7 separate regions of the Homo sapiens genome follow, and regions 2, 3, 4, 5, 6 and 7 are each linked to region 1. Evidence: promoter capture Hi-C in 16 types of primary human blood cells and fetal thymus (Javierre and others, 2016). All regions are on one chromosome and are shown on one strand. The core of a region is centred on a gene start or on the middle of the fragment in contact, and the rest is flanking DNA. Distances in the headings are between cores, read along the strand shown.

Region 1 (3,163 bases), core at 188-2,687:
AGCAAATGGACCAAGTCTCAGCACAGCCAAGCAGGGCGTCAGAAACGCAGGTTTCACAGCCATTGTCGTCTGCTTTCCAAAGGGTCTGAACTGAGGACATAATCTGTGCAATGGAGGTTGAAGGGCTTTCCAGCACCACAGAGCTTCATGGAACACCCAGGACCCTGAGATGGCCCCCCTCTCTGATCTCACGTCCTGCTGTTTGCCTCTCACTCACTCCTACTTCTATCTATTTGTACCTCAATGGGGCCACACTCATTCCCACCTCAGGGCCTTTGCACTTGCTGTTACCTCTGCTAAAAGTGCTCCTCCTTTTGCCTGGGAGAAGCTGTCTTGGGATCTTCACAAGACTTTGTCCTTCTTGTGGTTCAGTCTCAGATCACAGTCCCCTCCTTAAGAGACCTCTCCTGACTACCCCTTCTAAATCAGCAGCCCCAGGCCAGGTGCAGTGGCTCACGCCTGTAATGCCAACACTGGGAGGCCAAGGCAGGAGGATTGCTTGAGCTCAGGAGCTTGAGACCAGCCTGGGCAACATAGCGAGACCTCCTCTCTTCTAAAACTAAAAAAATCAGCTGGGCTTAGTGGTGTGTGCCTGTAGTCCCAGCTACTCAGGAGGCTAAGGTAGGAGGATTGCTTGAGCCAGGGAGCAAGGCTGCAGTGAGCCATGATCGCGCCACTCCACTGCAGCCTGGGGAACAGAGCAAGACCCTGTCCCCGCCCCCCAAAAAATCAGCCCCTAATCTGTTTGTATACATCACATCTCCCTGCTTTACTCCCTTTGTAGTACTTACTACCTGAAATAATTCTGCTCATTATTTGCTGACATGCTAGAAAAGTGCCTGGCAAATGATTGACTCTCAATGAAGATGTGCTGAATGCAAGGCTTCATGAATGAAGAGGAAATCTCACTAACGTCTTTTGTAATAAGGACCCAGGTACCTATGTTCAAAAGTGCCTCAATCCTAGTTAACAAGGGCAGAGACCACGAGAAACAACACTGTGTTTAGTAGCAACTTAACAACCAGCCAGCAGTTCTGTCCACACACACACCACCGGGCATGGTTCCAAAGCTAAAAAGGCACTAATTGCTTTTCTATAAGGAGGTAGAACACAGTCCCTCCGTGTTCTTTAGGCCTGATGGTCTGCATTATCGGATCTGTTACCGTGTTAATTGTTCCTGTCTCACACAGCCGGTTTGGGCTTTCTTCTGCATATGTCTGGGATGGTGACGGGTTCCTATATAGAGGAGTACTGGGGAAGCCTCTGTGTGTGTGTGTGTGTCCGTGCATATGTACACATGTGTGTAAAAAGCAGCCACACGCTGAGAATGGTTAACGGGTAGCCAGGCTGTCTGTACTCAGGGCCCTAAGACTGGCCCAGGAAAGGGCCGGGGGAGGTGGGGCGGGGTGAAGGTGGAGCGGGCTTGGCTTGTGCTCACTGCCTTTTCCACAACAGGAGTACAAATGCTGGAGTGAGTGAGGTGAACTCAAGTCGCCTTTAGGAATGGCTGAAAAAGCCCACACCTGGAAATCACTCCCTCCCTGCTCCTCCACGGCAGGTTGCATCTGCGAGACGCTTCGGTCATTAGAGGAATGAGCCGGGAGTGAGCAATTCACCAGCTCTCCAGCACTTGGTGGAAAGCAGCAGGCAAGGATGGATGTGGTTGACAGCCTTCTTGTGAATGGAAGCAACATCACTCCTCCCTGTGAACTCGGGCTCGAAAATGAGACGCTTTTCTGCTTGGATCAGCCCCGTCCTTCCAAAGGTAAGTGTCGGAAGCTGTTATTTTAATTCAGGAAACTATTGAGTTGTGGGAGAAATCAGCAAAGGCAAGGCTGATAAAAAATATATATAACCAAGTCATTGTGAGACAAGGCTAGATAAAGTCATATGTTCAGAAGTTTGGAGAAGAGATTAAAAAGCAGAATAGAGTCAAATATTCTTATTGTCCCCCATGGGGGAGTTGGGCATTCATGAATAGGACTTGGGGGAACAAAAGCAGGGGAGGAAAAGCTGAGTGAAGCAAGAGGGACTACAAGTGTCAAAGCCTGAACTTACAAGCACAGCAGAAAAGGTGTTGTCACCATGCAGCTGTTTTCTTTTCTTGGGGGGAAACCCAGCATGAAGTGATTAAAGTGAAATAATGCTTAGCAGCCAGGAAAGAAAGTGATCACTGTTCACTTGAGGAGCTTTGTTCTTAAGAAAAAGTGGTTCCCTGAGTGATCCTTTAACAAACCAACCTTCTAAAAAGAAAATAATTCAGTCTCTGCTTTCCTCAATTTGTTTCCGCAAAATGTTGCCAGGACAGGAATCGTGGGTCCAGTGATGTACACCCCGGTGGGGGGAAAATCGGCAGGAATTCACCCTTGGCTTCGGTTTTAGCATTCTGCTGTCATCACCTCCATCCCTCCGTCTTGCTCCTGTTTCTCTCTGCAGAGTGGCAGCCAGCGGTGCAGATTCTCTTGTACTCCTTGATATTCCTGCTCAGCGTGCTGGGAAACACGCTGGTCATCACCGTGCTGATTCGGAACAAGCGGATGCGGACGGTCACCAACATCTTCCTCCTCTCCCTGGCTGTCAGCGACCTCATGCTCTGTCTCTTCTGCATGCCGTTCAACCTCATCCCCAATCTGCTCAAGGATTTCATCTTCGGGAGCGCCGTTTGCAAGACCACCACCTACTTCATGGGTAAGTTGCTGCTGGTGACTCTTTCTGGAGCTTGCCCCAGACCCCACTCAGCCCCAGACCTTCCCAAACCTCTGACAATCACAGCAAAGGAGCCCTGCTGAGGGCTGAATCACAGAACATCAGGCTGTGCATGGCTGTGTGCACGGACATTGGTGCTGGCTTGACAGTCATCCTTATACGTTCCCCACAAGTCGGTCCCCATCATCCATGTTGGAGGTCAGTTTCTAAGAGTGAAATAAATTGATAGGAAAACACAGGGGCAGTTGATTTTGCTTGCTTCTATTTGAAGGGAAGAGGGACTTGCTTGCTTCTGTTTGAAGTCAGAAGTGACTTTAAGCTGCTCTATCCCTTTCTGGAAGCTGTTGACTGTGTCCTGATCTATACACAACTTGAGTCCTGGCTTCTAGGGAGGGTGAGGATGATGGAGGAGGGTTCTTTGCAGTTGTTTCTTTTGTTTTCTTAGGGAACAGGGGCT
Region 2 (3,163 bases), core at 334-2,833, 490 kb after region 1:
CTGCCAAGACTCTGTTTCTTCCTTGCTGCTCCCTGTCCATCTGCTCTATTCTCTGTTCTCTGCAAGCCAGCTTTCCCTGTGCCTCAGGCCACAGGGTGAAAGGTAGAGGCCAACCAACAGCTCTTGGGTTTTCTTATTATAGGTTTAGTCCATGAGCTCCAGCTTAGAAACATAAGTGAAAAGAAGAGAGTGTCTTTCTCCCCGGTTCTGGGGATCTGTCCTCCTGCATGGGTCCCATGTCACTTCTTGGCAAGTCTTCATTGTCAGGGCGAGAAAGTACTTTGACTGGCCAGGCCTGGTTCCTCCCAGATCACCGGGTTTCTTAACAGAGGAAATAACATACAGAAGCTTGTTGAAGAGAGAAAGATAAAGCACAGATGCCACAGCCCACTGCAGGGCGATTTCCTTCACTGGTCCTCCCACCCCCATTGGCCTAGCCCAGCTCTGATACTCCAGAGCTCAAGCCACCCCAAAGGACAGCTTCACACAGAGTAGCAGTTTTCCCAGACAGCCCTGGGCAGTGGTGAAATGTCTCAAGGAGGAAGCCAGAGTTGAAAAATACAAGTGAGCCTGTCCTTGAACTTATGTGAGACATTACCATGGGACCCCCAGACAAAACCGTGGGGACTCTGGGTGGAGCTGAACCCCTGCGTACCACAGTCAAGCCATTAACATCACTAGATGTCATTTTTTATCCACAGTCATCAGACCTAGGGACACTAGGTTATTGTACAGGTGAATGATCCCTTATGAGCCATCTAAGTTTTTTTCTAAATGTTTACCATAACAAATAACTCAGCAGCCAGTATTAGCTTACAGTTAGATCTTCACACACATTCTCAACTTATTACCATTTGTGAAGATGAAAGTGAGAAAAGCTAAAAACAAAAACAAACAATAGATAATAAAGCCTCTGGGTAACAAACCAAGTCTTAGCCAGAACTCTTTTGGTTGCAAGCAACAGAAACTCAAGTCAAGCCAATTTAAGCAAAGGGGATATTTACTGATTCCAGAAACTAGGAGTTCATGGAATGGAATTGTTCTCCAGCATGACTGGATGCAGAAACTCAGTAATATTCTCTCTCTCTGCCCATTTCTCAGCTGTGCTTTTCTTGGGATGTTAGGCTTACTCCTATTGCAAGAGATGAGCTTCTTCCCTGTGACTTTAGGGATTGTGGAGAGGAGGGTATGAGTATGATCACAGACAGGTTCCAGTTTACATCATTCACTCTCAATAAAAAGTAAGCTTTTCTCTTCTAGTGCCAGACTCTTCTCCCAGAAGGGTCTGATTGCTCTTACTAGAATGGCATTCCCGATCCATGAGCTCATCACTGCAGCTCAGGGGCAGTGACCCTCTGGCCAGAGTTAGGGGATCCTAACAGACTCATGTGGAATAGAGGAGGGTCAGTTCTGAAACAAAAGAAGGGAGCTGTTACCAAAATAAGGTTAGTAAGAGCTGTTGGCAGTTCAAAAGAAAAGACATGCAAGAGTCAAGTTCCTATGCTGGCCAACAGTGTGTCCTGCTGCAAGGGGTTCTGTGCCAGGACAAGCAGGAAGTTTTCTCCCTAAAAACAGAAATGAAACCCATTTCTGTATGTCATGGCACACAGTATAAACCACACTAATGTGTGGCCTCTGGGAGGTGTTTATGGGGATGTGTTTTTGTCTCGTAGTCAGAATAAATACAATGAAGGACCCATCCCTTCTTTGAAATATGGCATAATTTTGATGGGAACACATCATTTTCCTCCCAAAACCTTTTGTTGGCTCCCAATCCTCTTCAAAATAGAACTCCAACTTCACTATGTGCAATTGCATTATGATGCTGAGGAAAGAGCTTGCTTTGGGTCAGGTGAACCAGCCTGGACTGCTGTTGTGTGACCTGAGGCAAGCTACCCTGAACTTCCAGAGAGAAGCTTGGCAGCATGGTATCATGTCAGAGTCCTGGCCCCTGAAGCCACTCTGTCTTCACCACTTCCCAGCCACCTGCCCTTAAGCACATTTCTAAATGGTTCTGTGCCTTAATTTCCTCATGCATAAAATAGGGATGATGATAACTACCTTCACAAGGTTGTTCAGTGGAATAAACAAGACAATGAATGTCAAATGCTTGGAACAGTGTTTGGCACACAGTAAGTTCTCAATAAAATGTTAGCTATTGTTATTATTGCTATTTGACTGCTCAATATCTAGTAGAGTACATGATCCAGAATAAAATATATGGTGAATGAACCAATGGACTGAACCCTTTATGACCTAATTTTCCTAATCTATAAAATGTGACTATTACTCATCAAACATGCTGTTGTAATGATTAAGTGAGATAGCGTATGGAAAGCCTCTAGCACAATGCCTGTCTTAACAATAGGCAAGTTCTGTTGGTTCCTTTCTATTTTCTCCATTCCCCTACCCCTGAAATTCAAGGTCCTCCATAATTTTTCATGCCAAGCCTTTCTGAGTTGCGAAGTGCCAAAACCTAACTCAAGTTGGCTGACACTTACAATACAGGCTCAAGAAATAGAAAAGTCCTAGGTCTAGCTGAATCCAGAGACTCAAATGACATCATCGGGGCTTGATCTCCTTGAAACTCTTTCTTTTGAGCATGGTTGACTTCAAGGTGTTGACTTTACCTTGAGGAGACCTGTCTATGTGGTGGCCTCCAGTGCTCCAGATTGTCACCAGGTCTCTTAACCTCTCTGCACCTCAGTGTTCTCATCTGTAAAAAGGGGGATAATAATAGCACCTATAGTAAGCCTTTGATACGTATTATTGTCATTGCTGTTGTTATTCTTTAGCAATTCCAGAGGAAAAAGGAACTGCTGCTTCTACTTCTGGAAAACTCCAAGAATTGTGTCTCATTGGATCAATGCAGGCCTCCTGTCCATCCCTGAGGCAATCAGCATGATTGAGGGGATAGACTAATAAGACTGATGGGGCCTGGAATATCCCCCTCCCCTAGGGCTGGGGCCAGACGTGGGGTCAATCTCCTTCCCACATGGACTAAGAATTGGAGAGGGTGCTCTCCCTAAGAAAAACCAAGATGCTAGTAACAGGGTAAAAACATGGGCTGTGCCCAGGAGGGAACAGTTCCAGTGGCTAACCGCCTGGCTCCAGAGTTGAAGTTGATGACTGTGTCCTCCACTGCTGCCCACAACAGGCTGTG
Region 3 (3,163 bases), core at 168-2,667, 490 kb before region 1:
TTGGAATTCCTTCATGCAGCAAATATTTACTGACTGCACAGTAATTACTTTGGGCACTGGATTAAATAAATAAAACATCAGAATCAAGGAGTTATTACCAAGACTACCAGAAAGCATGATGTAAGAAATGCATTAACTTTTAGAGGGAGTTCAACAAAAAATGAATACAAAAGCCTAGTTAATAAATACCTTCTTTATTATATCAAAGGCCAGCTAAAAATTGAGTTTTCACTCTAGTTGCCAAACAACTTCCAGGTAAGAAGACACAATACATTCAGAACTTGTAAACCTTGATTTCTTCAATAATAGAAAAATTAGCCAATTCCAATGGTAGAAATATTTTCAAGGCAACTGTACTCAGAAATTTGTTTGATCTTCAATTATATATGATTTTTCTTAGTGCATTTAGCATTTAAAAATCTAATAATTCACAAATATTATTAAGCTACATTTACCTGGTATATAACATTTTCCAACTTGGCCTTCAGCTGGTATACATAGCAGTGGTTTAACTAATATTATCAGTGGCAAAAATAACTTTTAGGAAAAGTTTGTTTAATTGTAGTACTGACACAATGGTTAAAGGATTAAATTACTAAATAGGCTCCCCATTCATAGGGGACCTTTGTCAACAGCCAGAGAATCATATGAGAAAGGCAAAATGTGAATAAAGTGCTTCAGTCATCAAACTCAAAAAGACTGATTCATTTCCACCAAGTTACTGGATAGTGTGCATTCCGATTTTTCTCCCAAGTTTTTTTTCAATTTTCATATTCATTTCAGTGTCTTTCAATTACCCAGAAGTAATCTGGTCCCACATGGGGATGAGACAGGTTAACAGCAGCTAGTATCTCTATAATGCGGACAACAGGGTGGCAGCCTTGTGAAGGCCGAGGCCCACATAAGGCAGGCCCCTGAAAGAGGTAGCAGCCCGTGGGGTCAGGACCCTGGCTACCTACAGAGGGACTGAGCAACTACGTAAACATATTAAGATAACAGAGTCAAGTTTTCACTGTCAGTGAAGTACAAATAGAAAAAGGAGTTAAGCTAGAATTAACCCAAAGTGTTGGACTGAAATTGGAGTTTATCAGGTATCAGTGTGAATTCATGATTTTCAGTATAAAAAAAAAGAAATATAAGGTGTGCATGTTTCTTAACTCTGTCCACTGAGGTCTGGGAACAACAATATCTCAGTAGCAATGAACATACCTAGTGCCCAAATCTTGGTTTCTAAACAGCAATTCAGCTAAAAATAACCAGGGTTCCTTGGAGAAATGGCTGTTTCCAGGATTGAGGTTAAGACATAACACAATGAGCCTGGATACTTTTTGTGCCAATAAGTAGGGAAGAGCTCAAAAAATGATGGATATAGAAGGATATATAAAAGAATAAAGAATATCCTTAATCCTTAAAAGAGGATACAGAAGGATATAGAAGCCAGTTAGAAAAGGATATTTTAAAGAATATAGAAGCCAGTTAGAAAGGATATAAAAAGATATAGAAGCCAGTTAGAAAGGCCTCCCATTAACTAAATTTGGGACAATTTGAGCATCAAAATCATAATAGTAACAAACTCAAAACTGACTGAATAAAATAGGATATAAATGAATAAATGCAGAAGATCAATCTTCAAAGCATTCATAAGTTTTTGAGAATCAGTCTTTCTCAAATTCCTAGTTTCAAAATATGTCTTTGTTATCTCCCAGCATCTTCACGGACAAGATGTTGATATACACTCTGTTTAATTCTCTTCCTTATAGTAGAACGCCAACTAGTAAGTAGAAGGAATGATGGAATTCAAAAAGTTACCATTTAGCAACCATGTGAGCAATAATTAAGTCAGGCAAAAAAAATTTATAGATGCTAGAACTAAAAAGTGAAATGAGGAATGTGATTTTAAATAGTCTTCAAGTATCTCTCCACCAAAAAAAAAAAAGAATTACACATTTGTTCGGTGTGGGGTAAATACCTTTATAGTTATGGAAACACAGCAGACACTATATTCATCAAATGACAAAGATAACACCATTTGTAATAAGGCAAATGATACCAAGTGCCACCCAAAATGATATAATAAAAAGAATCACTCCTGTGATAGTCCAGCCCAAAATGCATAACCTGGGTCTAACAATGTAAAAATATCAAACAAATCCTAATTTAGTTATTTACTACAAAAGTGATGTTTTTGAAGATTACTGGCCAACGTCGTAAAAGTCCAGGCAGTATTATGGAATTTTTCCATACTGAAGACAACTAGAGAGATAGGACAACCGGGTACAATGCATCACCCTGCATCCTTTGGCTATAAAAGGCCATTATTAGGGCAAATGGTGGCACTGGAAGGGGAGCGGAGGGTATCTAGACACAGTGTATATGGGAGTTATTTGCTCTGGTCCTGCAACTTTTCTCTAAATTTGAAATCACTTTCAATTAAGAAATTAAAATTTAAAAAAGAAATCTTTCAGTTCTTCTTCAATTATGCAGGTAGAGAATTCTACTAATTGCGAGCTTCTCCATTACTTTGTAGCTTGTGATTTTCTCCAAGAAAGTATGGTAGCCTTTTAACAATATTAATAACAGCAAACATTAGGCTTTATTAGCTATCAAATACTGTTCTAAACTCTATATACTTGTTGACTCATTTAATCCTCAGCACAACCCTCTAAGGTGGGGGGTGGGTACTTATTAGCGAGATTTCACAAATAGGGAAAGTTAGGGACAGAGAGATCAAGTTATTTGTCCTGTCCGATGTCACAAATCTAGTAAGTGTTATGTAGAGACTTGAATACAGGCAGTCAAGCTCTGCATTCTTACTCACTTTTGGATTTTGTCTATCTGGGAAAGAATAGCTGTACCTTGGGGTTTCTGTAGGTATTAGTATTTAAGAAGCCTCAGAATACCTAAGTTTACTTGTTGCTGGATATTCATTTAGTTCAAACATCTTTTCGTGCCAGAAAGTAAGGAAGGGCTCCTTATCCACAATATTAGAAGTAAAGCTTCTAATATGTAATCTCGTCAACCCACAATATTGAAAAAGCTTCTAATATGGATTTAAGATGTTTATCTAGCAAAAAAATTAATAAAGCACTATAAAAATACTTATGATACCTTTTGAAAACTAGCCTTTAAAGGAAAACTGATTCCTTTCTTGACTCTGTTTGCA
Region 4 (3,163 bases), core at 447-2,946, 480 kb before region 1:
TCACTGCAGCCTTGACCTCCTGAGTACACGTGATCCTCCTGCCTCAGCCTCCTGTGTAGCAGGGACCACAGGTGCATACTACCAAGACTGGCGAATTTTTTTCATTTTTTGTTGAGATGGAGTCTCACTTTGTTGGCCAGGCTAGTCTCAAACTACTGATCTTCCTGCCTGTTAATAATGATTTTATTCTTGCCAAATCTAATGGGTTTTTTCACGTATATCATATTTCTCGTGTCAAGCTACTAGCCACTTTTCATCTTTCCTCTCTCTAACCCCCACTGTTGGAGGAGGGGGGAGGGGGAAGAGGAAAGTGGAGGGAAGAAATCACTTACGAAGATGCATACAATGCAAAGAGAATAAAAGATGAAAGATGTCGCTGGACCAGGAAGATAAAATGAAGCTGAGGTAAAGACACTTACAAAATATATGAGATCCTTAATAACAGTTAAAAAAGGCAGACAAAGAAGGAAGCAAAATCAGTCACAGGATTCACAATATAAACACAAAATGTCTGCTCAGCAGTACATCTATTCTTATTACTGAGACCTAAATGAAGAATTATTCAGGAGGACTCTTGGCAGACACTTTGCAATATGGCAAGTCTATGCGCCCTACTATATTACCGTCTATCCCTTCCTGAAAACACTCCCCTCTCTAGATGCTCATGACACTGTGCCTTCCTGATTCTCCCTCCATGTCTCTGATGGCCATTACTGATTTCATTCATCAGTTCTTTGCCTTTGCCTTAATGCCAGTCTTCCCCAAGGCTACTCTCTCCCTTTCCTTCTTTTAGTGAACTCTGAATTTATATGACTTCAATTATTATACCTTTACATGAGTGAATCACAAATCTCTTTGTTTGCTTTTAGAACATTGCCCTTATGCAACTATAATCTCCCAGTGATAAACACCTGTTTTGCATTTTTTTAGCTGATTACTTGGTAAGAAAAGTTGCTGGAAATAAAAACGATAAATTTCCCTCTATGAAAAGTGCCATTCTGTTTCATTTTGTCAGACTGATATAGATTCTTAATTTCAAACTATTAAGTAATTATCTGATTAAAACACTGAAATCAAAAGTATCTAAATGGTCTATTATTTTCAACATCCTGAAAGAATTAATGTCGATGCAAAGAGAGGGAGAAACAGAAGATTATCCAAGGGTTAGAAGAATGCTTACTGAGGACCTTTTATTGAAGAGGTTCTTATCTTTAAAATATAAAACCAGATGAGATGAGAAAGATAGAAAGATATAAGCTTTATTTGTTCTATTCTATGCAGAGTAACCATCCAGAGATTGAAACGGTTTTTAATTATAAGATATAAAAACATGCTAAGTGATTTATTCTATTTTTATCATTCATTTCCTCTGAGCTATACATTTATATATGTAATATATACATAAATATACATATCAGAATCATAGAAATGTTTAGAATTTTTAGAAAGAGCAAAGGTCATATTCAAATTCAAAAGGCTGGCTAATACCTTGGAAAGTTTTAGTTTTCATTGTATTAATATTTGTAATTTACATTATTTCTATTACAGTCGCTATTAAAATGCTAAGTAACATTCAGTTAAATGGGGGGAAAAAGACTTAAGTAAGCATAAGACTTGTCTGAGAAAGAAACAAAAGTTAACTGACCATCTTTGAAGACAATGTCATTCTCAACAAACAAGTCCTTTATTCAAAAGCAGCAAATAAAATATTTGTTCTACATAAAGTAGAATATAATATAGTGACTCTCCTGCAATAACATACATTTCAAAATCTAAAACTATTTCCTGAGTCACTCCTTCCCACCTCTTTCCCAAAACAAAGATGGATAAAGGAAAATGTAACACACATTCATATGCAACTGATTTCCAACTACTAGGAAAAGGGTAGAAAGGACAATATGATGTCCAAAAAAGGCTACTGTTTCCTAGATAGTCCATCACAGTGAAAAGTGGACAGCCCTCATTTTTACCTTCTGCAGAAGGTTCTTTTACTGTACTCCAACCTTGAGGTATCCCTTGAGTCTGTGAACATAGCAGAGGAGAAATGTAGAATTCAGGTGTATAGAAAACCATAATAAGGCAAACTCACAAACAATCTTAGAATAGTACCTCCTTAAATCATAAGAAAAGCTTCACATGTTGAATTATATACTGGAAAACCTGTTATGTGAGAAAAAACAAGGCTCAAAACATTTATTTCACGTGTTCCTACAGAATAGAATTGTCAAGTTTTCTACAGGACAGAGAGATGTAATAGGTAGTGGTCTCTGCATCTTCTTCTGAGAGGGGGTCTCTATTTCAGAATAAAACCAAGAACAATCTATGTAAAGAAGGCAGGATTGTCTCAAAGTATCTTCCACAAACTAAAAAGACAGAATTAATCCCAGCAAATCAGCATATGCAATGATCCAAAATCTCCAAAACACAAGTGTACTTAAGTGAAAGAGGAAGAACTGAGAATAATAAAACAAAAAGAGAAAGAGAAAAAGAAGAAAATTAATAAAACCAAAACAGCCCTGATGGGTAGATTTGAAGTGAAGGGAATAGAGACACTAAAATGCTAACATAAGATCATGATTAAGAGCAATCAGCAACTTACTGTGAGTGCTCTGAACTCATTTGGATAATTTTATAAAAGAAAGTTATTTGATAATAAAGGGAAAAGGGAGCAAACTCTGTATGAAGTACAAAAATCAATTATAACTAATGATTAATACAAAACAATGTTTGCCAAATTTGTAAATTAATCAAGAGAGACACTATTTTTCTAGCAAACCCATGTTAAACTCCCTTAAATGTTGGTTGACAGAGTGAATGAGCAACATACTGGTGTCACCTATTCTCTTCACAGAAGAAACCCGGACTATTAAAGACCTTTTGTTAGTGGTAGAAATGATGACATCTGTTACTCTGAAACTACACTCTACCTCAAGAATGGACCTTCCCTTGCATAAGGTGCTTTCTGTGAACAATTAAAACTCAATCCCTCCACTGTGGCTATAATAAGAGCTTCCCCTAAAGCTAAAAGCACTGTAGGAAAGTGGAAAAGTGTTAAAACCTGATTTACTAAAACAGCACAGGTATTTGTAGCATATTAACAGCCTTGTGTTTTTTCAATGCTCTACATTAAGTACAAATATCCTCCTAGCTATTAATCTAGCAC
Region 5 (3,163 bases), core at 449-2,948, 470 kb after region 1:
CCTCCTAGACCATCTAGCTCCAGGTGAGTCCATCCAGACCAGAACTGTCCAGCCGTCCCACAGAATTGTGTGAAAGAATAAATGTTTGTGCTTTTAGCCACTGATATGGTTTGGCTATGTCCCCACCCACATCTCATCTTGAATTCCCATGTGTTGTGGGAGGCACCTGGTGGGAGGTAATTGAATCACGGGGGCAGATCTTTCCTGTGCTGTTCTCATGATAGCAAATAAGTCTCATGAGAGCTGACGGTTATTGTAAGGGGGAGGTTTCCTGTACAAGCTCTCTTTGCCTGCTGCCATCCACGTAAGACGTGACTTGCTCTTCCTTGCCTTCCACCATGATTGTGAGGCTTCCCCAGCCATGTGGAAGTGTAAGTCCAATTAAACCTCTTTCTTTTGTAAATTGCCCAGTCTTGGGTATGTCTTTATCAGCAGTGTGAAAATGGACTAACGCAGCCACTAAGTTTTGGGGTGGTTTGTTATCCAGTAGAAACTGACTACACCATGATCCCATTTTATTGGTAAGGAAACGAAGGCTTAGAGAGGTGGAGACAATTGCTTCGAGTCATGCCTATTTAAATGGTGGGTCTGTCTCATGCCAGCCTCTGGTCCCTTGCTAGTGTAGCCCTGTGCCTTCTCTTCATAGAAAGAACTAGTTTCAAGATCAAGGTAAGAGCTTGTTCACTCACACTGGGGGACCTATGATTAGAACAGGCCGGACAGCATTGCTGTCTGGAGACTAAAGTGCTGGGTAGGAACCTAAAATTCCTGACTCCAAGTGGCTCTCAAACCTAGCTGCATATTAGCAGCATTGGGTTTTTTAAAAAAAATCCCGATGGCCAGGTCACACTCCAAACCAAATAAATCAGAATCTCTGAGGGTTAGACTCAGTATTTTTAAAACTCCCCTGTTAATTTCAACAAGCAGCCAAACTTGAGAATTAGTGTCTTAAACACTTCTAAATGGAGAAGTTGGTTGGGGTTGGAGAAACTGGAGCTATTAAACCAGAAAAGTCCCCTACAGGATAGACATAGTGACTGTCTCCAAGGATTTGAGGGAGGGGCCTCCCAAGGAAGAGGGACCAGGAATAACAGCATCATTGATTCAATGAATATACATTATGTGCTCAGCTCTGCATTATTATTTCCTCCCTCAAGGATAGCAGAAGTGACAATTATGTAGATGCAGAATCGCAATCACACCGTGACTAATATTATGGTTATATGTTCCAGGTAATAGTAGCAGCATGGAAAAGGCAGAGATTGCTCTTTCTAGCCGGGGCCAGAAAAGGAGGCACTGGTAGTCTTGCAGGAATGAGGAGAACTCTGTGTTCATTAATTAGTGCTGCCCATGAAGGGACCAGGCACTCCAAGTATCCTAGTCAGCTCAGCCTGCTATAACAGAATACCATAGACTGTGTGGCTTAAACAACAAACATTAGTTTCTCACAATTCTGGAGGCTGGGAAGTCCAAGATCAAGGTGCCTGCTGATTCAGTTTTCTGGTAAGGACTCTCTTTCTGGCTTGCAGATGACCACCTTCTTGCTGTGTCCTCACATGTCAGAGAGAGAAGGTCTCCTTCTTTTCTTATAAGGGCACTAATTTCAGAATAGGGGTTCCACTCTCATGACTTCATGTAAACCTAATTACCTCCCAAAGACCCCACCTTTTAACATCATCACAGTCATTGGGGATTAGAGCTTCAATATATGACTTTGGGGGATGCACATTCATCCCATAGCACCAGCAGGCAGGTTGTGGCCTGGCACTGGAGGGTGAAGCAGAGAGGCTGGTCAACCCAGGAAGCTGGGAGGTTGTAGAGGAGAATCTAACACTGAGAATAGGAGGGTGAAGTGGATAGAGGGGGAATAACAACCCCCACAGCCCCTTTGTATCTCTCAAGATATTGGGTACCTGAGTTTGGGGAGGAGTTGGGCCTTCTGGTGGGAGCTAAGTGACTGCAGCTATGAGGGCAGGGAGGCATCTGGTCTTTTTAATGAGGGTGCTATTTGGACCTCTGTACAAGAATTGCAAGTCCTGATCTCACAGCAGTAGCTGCTGAGCCTTCTAGCACTTTCTTTTTCCAAGTATAGTCGTGGACTGGAAGTATTGACCTCAACTGTGGGCTTCCTAGAAGGGCAGAATCTTGGGCCCACCCAAAATTACTCAATCAGAATCTGCACTTCAACAAGAGCCCCAGATAAATCTAGGCACATGAAAGTTTGAGAAGCACTGCTCGAGTACCCTCTACCCACCAGTGGGATCACTATATATACTATATATCCAGCCAATACATGCTCTAGAACCCAGAGTGCCCTCTGTGTATTGAGCCAAGCCAGCCCTGGTTTGGGGGGTAGCAGCCAGCAGAAATTGTCAGCCAGGCCACATCAGGGGCGTGTTAGAGGATACAAAAATGTATGGAGCAGGACTGAAGGTTAAGGGCAGGGAGTCTGCAGCAGGAGTTCCCTTGAGGTCAAGAGTGCTTTGAGATGGTCAAGAATAGAGTTCCTGACTCCTCTCTTCCATCCTTGAAGGCTTTTACTAAATAATGTTTACAATCCATGCATGTTGGCCAAACTGCTAGCTACAGCTTTGCCTCCTGACAACTTTTCTTCCCTTCATTTGTGAGAGGCAAGGAATTATGGATTCAAAGCGGGCCGTGGCTACCAGACCTTTGATCTTCTGGGTCTCAAGTGGTCAGAGAGTCCCAGAAGGCTCCACACACAAGCCCCTGGGCACCTCAGGGAAAGGCAGATGTGTCTCTCATGCATGCCGGTCATCCCATCTGCTAATGACTTCCCTCCTTCCTAATGGTCTTCTCTTTGCCTCAGAATCCACAGCAAGTTGCATTCCTGACTGGAGATGTCAGGGGGACCTCGTGTGAACTGCCAGCACTGAATCGTTTCTGAGGTTGGAAGAAATAGTTGGGAGGCTGCCCTCACCTTCCAGCTTGGAACTGGGCTGAATGCAGTCCTATGGCTCACTCCGCAGGCCACCCGCTTGGCTGGGACACAGCTTTGGCAAGCCTTGCTCCTGGCAGGCTGGACTCATGAGAACCCTGGCATTTCAGAGCGTGTGTCAGGGCATGTGGAAGGAGAATGCAGTGTGGTCACAGGGTAAGCCAAGACCGGGGAGATGGCCTGCATGATAAGAGGGGAAGTGGA
Region 6 (3,163 bases), core at 176-2,675, 290 kb before region 1:
CAGCTACTCTGGAGGCTGAAGCATAAGAATCGCTTGAATCCAGGAGGCGGAGGTTACAGTGAGCCAAGATTATGCCACTGCACTCCAGCCTGAGGGACAGAGAGAGACTCTGTCTAAACAAACAAAACCAAACAAACAGGCAGAGTGCGGTGGCTCACGCCTGTAACCTCAGCACTTTGGGAGGCCAAGGTGGGCAGATCACCTCAGGTCAGGAGTTCGAGACCAACCTGACCAATATGATGAAACCCCATCTCCACTAAAAATACAAACATTAGTGGGGCATGGTGGCGGGCACCTGTAATCCCAGCTACTCAGGAGGCTGAGACAGGAGAATCGCTTGAACCCAGGAGGCAGAGGTTGCAGTGAGCCAAGATTGCACCATTGCACTCCATCCTGGGCAACAAGAGTGAAACTCCGTAAAAAAAAAAAAAAAAAAAGAAGAGAGAGAGATGCCTAATAGAGCTATGTAAAGATATAAAGTGGCCTGTCCCAGCGTTTCCTGTAGAATAACACCAAAACAAGGAAATAAAATAAATTCTGCAACTATAGTTCTACAAGCTATAATTCAACAAAACGTTCTTGAAATAAAAAAATTTGAAATTACATATTGAAAGAGCACACGATGAACTTCAAAATGTGAACACAAAACAACAAACAGAAAGATATATATTAGTTATTACTTGGCTTAATGAAAAGGAAAAAAATCCTTACAAAATCTAGGCAAAAACTGCAAGTGATTTATAAGGGAAAGAAAATTAGATGACCATCTAATTTTAAGCCAGAGAAAAACAGAATAACATATTTAAGATACACAAGGAAAGAAAATGTGAGCCAAGCATTTTACATGTAACTAAACTTACTTTCAAGAAAAAGAGTACATACAAGCTCTTATCAACATATAAACTTAAGAGATTATTTTCTCCCATGAGCCCTTCTTGAGGTATCTAAATAGAAAACAAGCTTCAGACAACCAAAATGACTAGGATGACATTGACACAAGTACAGATGGTGGGTATTCAATATAATTACTTGTAGAACTAAGACTAAGGGGTTAAATGGACTAGGATATAGTCTGCTCTGGCTATATGCTCTGACAATGTAGACATAGTGCAAAATTGGGAAAAACATATAATACAGACATTTACAAACTCTTCTGTTGGGGTGAGTTTTGTTATCTTAAGACTATTATATGTGAATTGTTGGATAAAGCAAATGAATGATTATAGATATTTTATCCCATCACCTCTTGTATTCTTGAAAACTATTATTAGTATGCAGAAAAAAATTATATATATATGAAAGCTTAAGTAAAAATACAAAGTCTGTATTTGAATTTGAAATTACCTCTGAGCACCTGAAAAGGCCTAATAACAATGACCAACCTACTAGCAATGATTAGACCTAACGATCAGATTGTGGCCTTAAAATATTGTTTACTACTAAAAGATACCATGACTTCTTTGAGAATTGACTAATTTCAGGTTTTGGGTAGAAAGTGTATAAGATAAACTTGGAACATCTTGTCATACCTGATGGCAAGTAAGCTTTCAATGATGACTAGAGTCATGACAAAAAAAACTTTACTCCTTGAAGTGGCTGTCACTGACTGAAGATGGGAAACCTTGAACCTCAATAAGGATAAAAACTGCATGGGAATGAAACCCATAACATATCACATTTAACTACATAAGTTCACAATGATATTAAAAAAAAACTGACCACCTTTGAAGAATAATAAGATACCAACTCATTGCCTTGAAAACTGACAAATAAAGGGAAAGCCCTTTATTTGTCAGGATCAAGCAAATCCTGGCTTTCCTGTATGAATTTGTCTTAGTCCATGTTGTTCTGCTATAACAGGATACCTGAGACTGGGTAATTTATAAAGAACAGAAAGTTATAGTTCTGGAGGCTGGGAAATCCAATATCAAGGTGTTGGCATTTGGAGAGGACCTTTTTGCTGTGTCATCTGATGGTGGAAGGGCAAAGAGTAGCCACCCTGAAAGCCCTTTTAGTAAGGCACACATGAAGCTGGAGCCCTCATAGCCTAATCATCTCTTAAAGTCCCCACCTCCCATACCATTATATTGGCAATTAAATTTCTTTGTTTCTTTCTTTTGAGACAGAGTCTCGCTCTGTTGCCCAGGCTGGAGTGTGGTAACACAATCACAGCTCACTGCAGTCTCCACTTCCTGGACTCAAGTGATCTTCCCACTTTAGCCTCCTGAGTAGCTAGGACCATAGGCGTGTGCCACTATATCTGGTTAATTTTTAAAAATGTTTTGTAGAGACAGGGTCTCACTATGTTGCCCAGGCTGGTCTCAAACTCCTGGGCTCAAGTGTTTCTCCAGCCTTAGCCTTCCAAAGTGCTGGGATTACAGGTGTAAGCCACTGCATCTGGCCTGGCAATTAAATTTCAACATGAGTTTTGGAGGGTACAAGCTTTCAAATCATAGCAGTACTGCCCTAAATTATTAAAATGCAATTTACCAGTTCTCAATACTAACATACGAAAAGAGAAAACTTATATGGTTATTCTCAATGGATACAGAAAAGTCATTTTTACAAAATTCAACCTTAGTTCCTAATAAAAAAACTCTCAGCAAACTTGGAATAGAAAGGAAATTCCTTAACCTTACAAAAGGCTGAAGCCTGCTGCTCATATGTAATGGAGACAGAATAAGTGCTTTCCTTCTTAGATTAAGAACTTGTGAGGGATATCACTCTTACAATGTCTACTCAATGTTTTCTTGGAACTTTTAGCAATGCAAACAGACAAGAAAAAAATAAAAGATATTGATATGGGAAAGGAAGCAGTAAAACTGCCTTTATCAGCAGACAATATTATCGTTTATGTAGAAAATATTAGATAATCTACAAAAAAATCTACTAGAACTAATAAGTAAGTTTATCAAGGTTTCTGGTTATAAGATCAATATACAAAAATCAATTGTATTTCTATATAGTATAACAATCCAAAATTGAAATTAAACAACAGCACTTATAATAGCATCAAAAATATGAAACCCAGGGAAAATTCTGACAAGAGATGTTCAAGACCAGTACGCTGACAACAAATGCAGAGATATACCATGACAACATTGCTAAGTGAAATGGAAAAAGATTTAAATAGAGAGATATACCATGTTCATGGATTGGAAGA
Region 7 (3,163 bases), core at 455-2,954, 260 kb before region 1:
TGGGCCACGAGGTAAGGCAGGGATTGCCCAATACTGAAGTGTCCCAGCAGAGGATAAGAAAGGCTTGTGAACAATGTTTAGAAAAAGTTATACTCAACACCCTTGAGGATTCCTTCTCTTGCTAGATTATATATGTTACTGCCATTCAGCCAAAAGAAATGAGGGCAGACCATTATTTCCTAAATCATATTTGTATAGGTTTTTAAAAAAATTGAGACAGAACACTAGAAGTTGCTAAAAACATTAATCAGTGGTATCTCTGATTATACCAGGGTAATTGCCACCCAGGGACATATGCTACCCAGTAACTATAACTATAGACTTCTCAGCATTCAAGAATATGTTAAGGCTGGGCCTGGAGGCTCACACCTGTAATCCCAGCACTCTGGGAGGCCGAGGCGGGTGGATCACTTGAGGTCAGGAGTTTCAGACCAACCTGGCCAACATGGTAAAACCCCGTCTCTACTAAAAATACAAAAATTACCTGAGTGTGGTGGCAGGCGCCTGTAATCTCAGCTATTCGGGAGGCTGAGGAAGGAGACTCTCTTTAACCCAGGAGGTGGAGGTTGTAGTGAGCCAAGATCATGCCACTGTACCCCAGGTTGGGCCACAGAGTAAGAGTGTCTCAAAAAAAAAAAAAAAAAACAACCCGAATATGTTAATATGATACCTAGAGAATCTTCCTATCATATTCTTCTTCAACTAAGCTTTATTTCCACAGCAGCCCAGAGAGGTGATTTTATAATGCTATCAATTTAAGGTATGGAAACATTCTGCCAACTTTTCTGATCCCTATCTATTGTGAAAACTTTGTAATTATTATTTGAATTTCCTGGTAATCTCACTAATAAAGTAATTGAGTCTATTGTGCACAAGAGAAGCAAAATAATATAATTAATAAGAAATATATGCCTTCTTTGTAATCATATAATTGCCTTGGGCATACATCTGTTGTAAGAACTGCTTAATTATTAAATAAAAGATAAATTTGTGGCTTTGAAAAAAAGATGAAATAGTTTTTGGCCTGAGAGAATAAAAGGGGAAACTCAGCCACCAGGGAGGAAGTCAGAGACTGTTAGCAAAAAGGAAAAGGTTTTAACTTCATTTATAAATAGACACAGAAGAGCTGAGGTTTCAGCCATGTAGGGAGGCTTAGCCTCAGTTTGGATCTTAGGTGTTGAGATGGGGCATAGAACAGACTGCTAAGGTAGCCAGGGGAGTCCAGAGTAGAAGGGAAGTATATCTACACTCTGCTGCACAGACCTCATAGGTGTTGGGAGATAGTGAGACCTAGCTGGACTAAAAGGGGAGAGGGAAAGGGAAGGGAAAATGAACTTTCCTGGGAGCTGGGAAGAAAGACTAGAAGTAGGCTGGTATTGTGCAGTTACATAAAAGTATCAAGACTGCAGTTTTTGTTCGTACTTATCGTCAAAGCCAGATATATCTATTAATTGTTCATGAATTAGAAGTGACAAATAAATTCCAGTTACGGATGGTGAATGTTAGGAAGAAAAGGGGACTTATTATAGAAACAGCATGTGTTCTACAAACAAGCATTTACTCTTACCAGCAAGAATTTCCAGAGAGTTGTATCCTAGGATTCTATCCCATAAAAGCAAGAGCTGATCTGTAGCTAAGTATCCAGAGAAAGCTCGAACCATCCACTTAAATGATATGCGAAGTCTATAAGCAAGGAAAAATAAAAATTAATGTACCACTGAAATTTTTTCTCATGAAAATGCAATATCAGAAGAACCCAACCAATTCTATTCAAGAGTCTTAGAAATCACCTGGGCATTTAAAACTTAAGTACTTTCTTGAAAGCTGCAAGAGTGCAGTGGTGAGAAACCATAAGTCCTCAAATTAGTGGTCTTAAAGTATTAAGAGGAAGAATTACACATGCTGGGTCCTCCTTTACTCTAGAGGTCAGCTTTTATAAAACCCATTTCTACATTCTGTTTTTCAGAGTGTATACTACTTAGCTATCAATGAGCTGACCTTCTGACAGTCTTAACAATTCCAGGCAATCTATAATAATTTGAATTTTTATTCAAAATACTTGAAAGATTGTTCAATGCCTGCATATTTTCTCAATTTAATAAATTATTTTCTACATTTCAGTCAAATGGCTATATAGGATGAATAAAATAAAATAACAAGTATGAGTATAAGGACAAAAATAGTTTTAAAGCTATGAGACATTAGAAATAGATTTCTGATTTCAAACACTTCATTTTAGTTAGGAGGTTATAGAACTCTGAAAGATCAGCCAGAAAATTCAATTAAATTCCATTTTGCTAAAACAATTCTAAGATGTATGAGATCTTACTACTTACAAGTAGGTTATGTTACAATAACAATTTATCTCTGAAATCAGGAAATGAACTCTTTGGCTCTGGTGCCTTAAGGGATCAACCAGTTCTTCATATTTCTGTATTATCTATTAGCATCTAATATCACTTGACTGTCCCTGACAGGTACTAGCTAAACTGTTTGCTGGAATTATCATATTTTGTCAATAAACATCTGTGCTATTCTCTTAAAAGACAGAAAAGGACCCAGAGGTTGCCTTGGTTGGTGTCATTGTATTAATTATCTTAAGACTGAAAAAGATCCTCAAGTTTCAGAAATTCCTCAATACTGCATAACTATTGTTCTAATATAACAAAGTACATGTAGGCACTAGTATTGACTAAGCTTTTTGGGTGGTTTTAGAATATCTCTTTATATATACAAAAGAAACTTTGGGCCACTGGATATTTTAATAACTTACAAAATACATTTGAATTTAAAGTCAAAATTATTAACTTCAGCTTGCTTCATTTTACTCAAATTCTCATAGTGTCATATTTGAGGAATAGTGCCACACATCCCCACCCACCAATATAGAAATAACATAGCATAGCTTTTTAGAAATAAAGCTTATTGTGCTATAATTTATGTATAGTCATCCTCCTACGGTTTCACTTTCTGTGGTTTCAGTTACCCATAGCCAACTGTGGTCACCAACAGTCCAAAAATATTAAATGAAAAATTCCAGAAATAATCCATAACTTTTAAATTGTGTGCTGTTTTGAGTAGCCTGGTGAAAGCTCGCACGGTCCCACTCCAGATATGAATCATCCCTTTGTCAGGTGTATCTATGCTGTACGTGCTACCCACA

Evidence for each region. The method cuts DNA at HindIII sites, captures the fragments that hold promoters and counts their contacts. A CHiCAGO score of 5 or more calls a contact.
Region 2: a fragment that was not itself captured here is called in contact with the fragment with the promoter of CCKAR in region 1 in 1 of 17 cell types (neutrophils); the score reaches 5.8 in neutrophils.
Region 3: a contact is called between a fragment that was not itself captured here and the fragment with the promoter of CCKAR in region 1, in 2 of 17 cell types (neutrophils and fetal thymus). The highest score is 6.5, in neutrophils.
Region 4: a fragment that was not itself captured here is called in contact with the fragment with the promoter of CCKAR in region 1 in 1 of 17 cell types (naive B cells); the score reaches 5.4 in naive B cells.
Region 5: a contact is called between a fragment that was not itself captured here and the fragment with the promoter of CCKAR in region 1, in 2 of 17 cell types (neutrophils and activated CD4 T cells). The highest score is 8.4, in neutrophils.
Region 6: a contact is called between a fragment that was not itself captured here and the fragment with the promoter of CCKAR in region 1, in 1 of 17 cell types (fetal thymus). The highest score is 5.5, in fetal thymus.
Region 7: a fragment that was not itself captured here is called in contact with the fragment with the promoter of CCKAR in region 1 in 1 of 17 cell types (fetal thymus); the score reaches 5.1 in fetal thymus.

The regions. Positions count from the first base shown.
Region 1 is chr4:26,488,758-26,491,920 of GRCh38, reverse strand. It overlaps CCKAR (cholecystokinin A receptor), which reads left to right and starts at 1,437. Exons shown (of 5, transcript NM_000730.3): 1 at 1,437-1,765; 2 at 2,437-2,688. The coding sequence starts at 1,654. The HindIII fragment of the contact is 9,380 bases long and covers 1-3,163 here.
Region 2 is chr4:25,998,865-26,002,027 of GRCh38, reverse strand. No RefSeq gene overlaps it. Among named protein-coding and RNA genes, the nearest start is that of LINC02357, 70 kb to the left of the region's middle. The HindIII fragment of the contact is 670 bases long and covers 1,249-1,918 here.
Region 3 is chr4:26,980,743-26,983,905 of GRCh38, reverse strand. The region is part of intron 3 of STIM2 (stromal interaction molecule 2); the gene reads right to left. Among named protein-coding and RNA genes, the nearest start is that of STIM2, 120 kb to the right of the region's middle. The HindIII fragment of the contact is 3,163 bases long and covers 1-2,998 here.
Region 4 is chr4:26,964,954-26,968,116 of GRCh38, reverse strand. The region is part of intron 3 of STIM2 (stromal interaction molecule 2); the gene reads right to left. Among named protein-coding and RNA genes, the nearest start is that of STIM2, 110 kb to the right of the region's middle. The HindIII fragment of the contact is 873 bases long and covers 1,260-2,132 here.
Region 5 is chr4:26,015,279-26,018,441 of GRCh38, reverse strand. No RefSeq gene overlaps it. Among named protein-coding and RNA genes, the nearest start is that of LINC02357, 54 kb to the left of the region's middle. The HindIII fragment of the contact is 3,593 bases long and covers 1-3,163 here.
Region 6 is chr4:26,774,410-26,777,572 of GRCh38, reverse strand. It overlaps a transcript of TBC1D19 not described here. Among named protein-coding and RNA genes, the nearest start is that of STIM2-AS1, 85 kb to the left of the region's middle. The HindIII fragment of the contact is 242 bases long and covers 1,305-1,546 here.
Region 7 is chr4:26,746,931-26,750,093 of GRCh38, reverse strand. TBC1D19 (TBC1 domain family member 19) reads right to left here. Exons shown (of 21, transcript NM_018317.4): 19 at 1,568-1,683. Among named protein-coding and RNA genes, the nearest start is that of STIM2-AS1, 110 kb to the left of the region's middle. The HindIII fragment of the contact is 1,990 bases long and covers 710-2,699 here.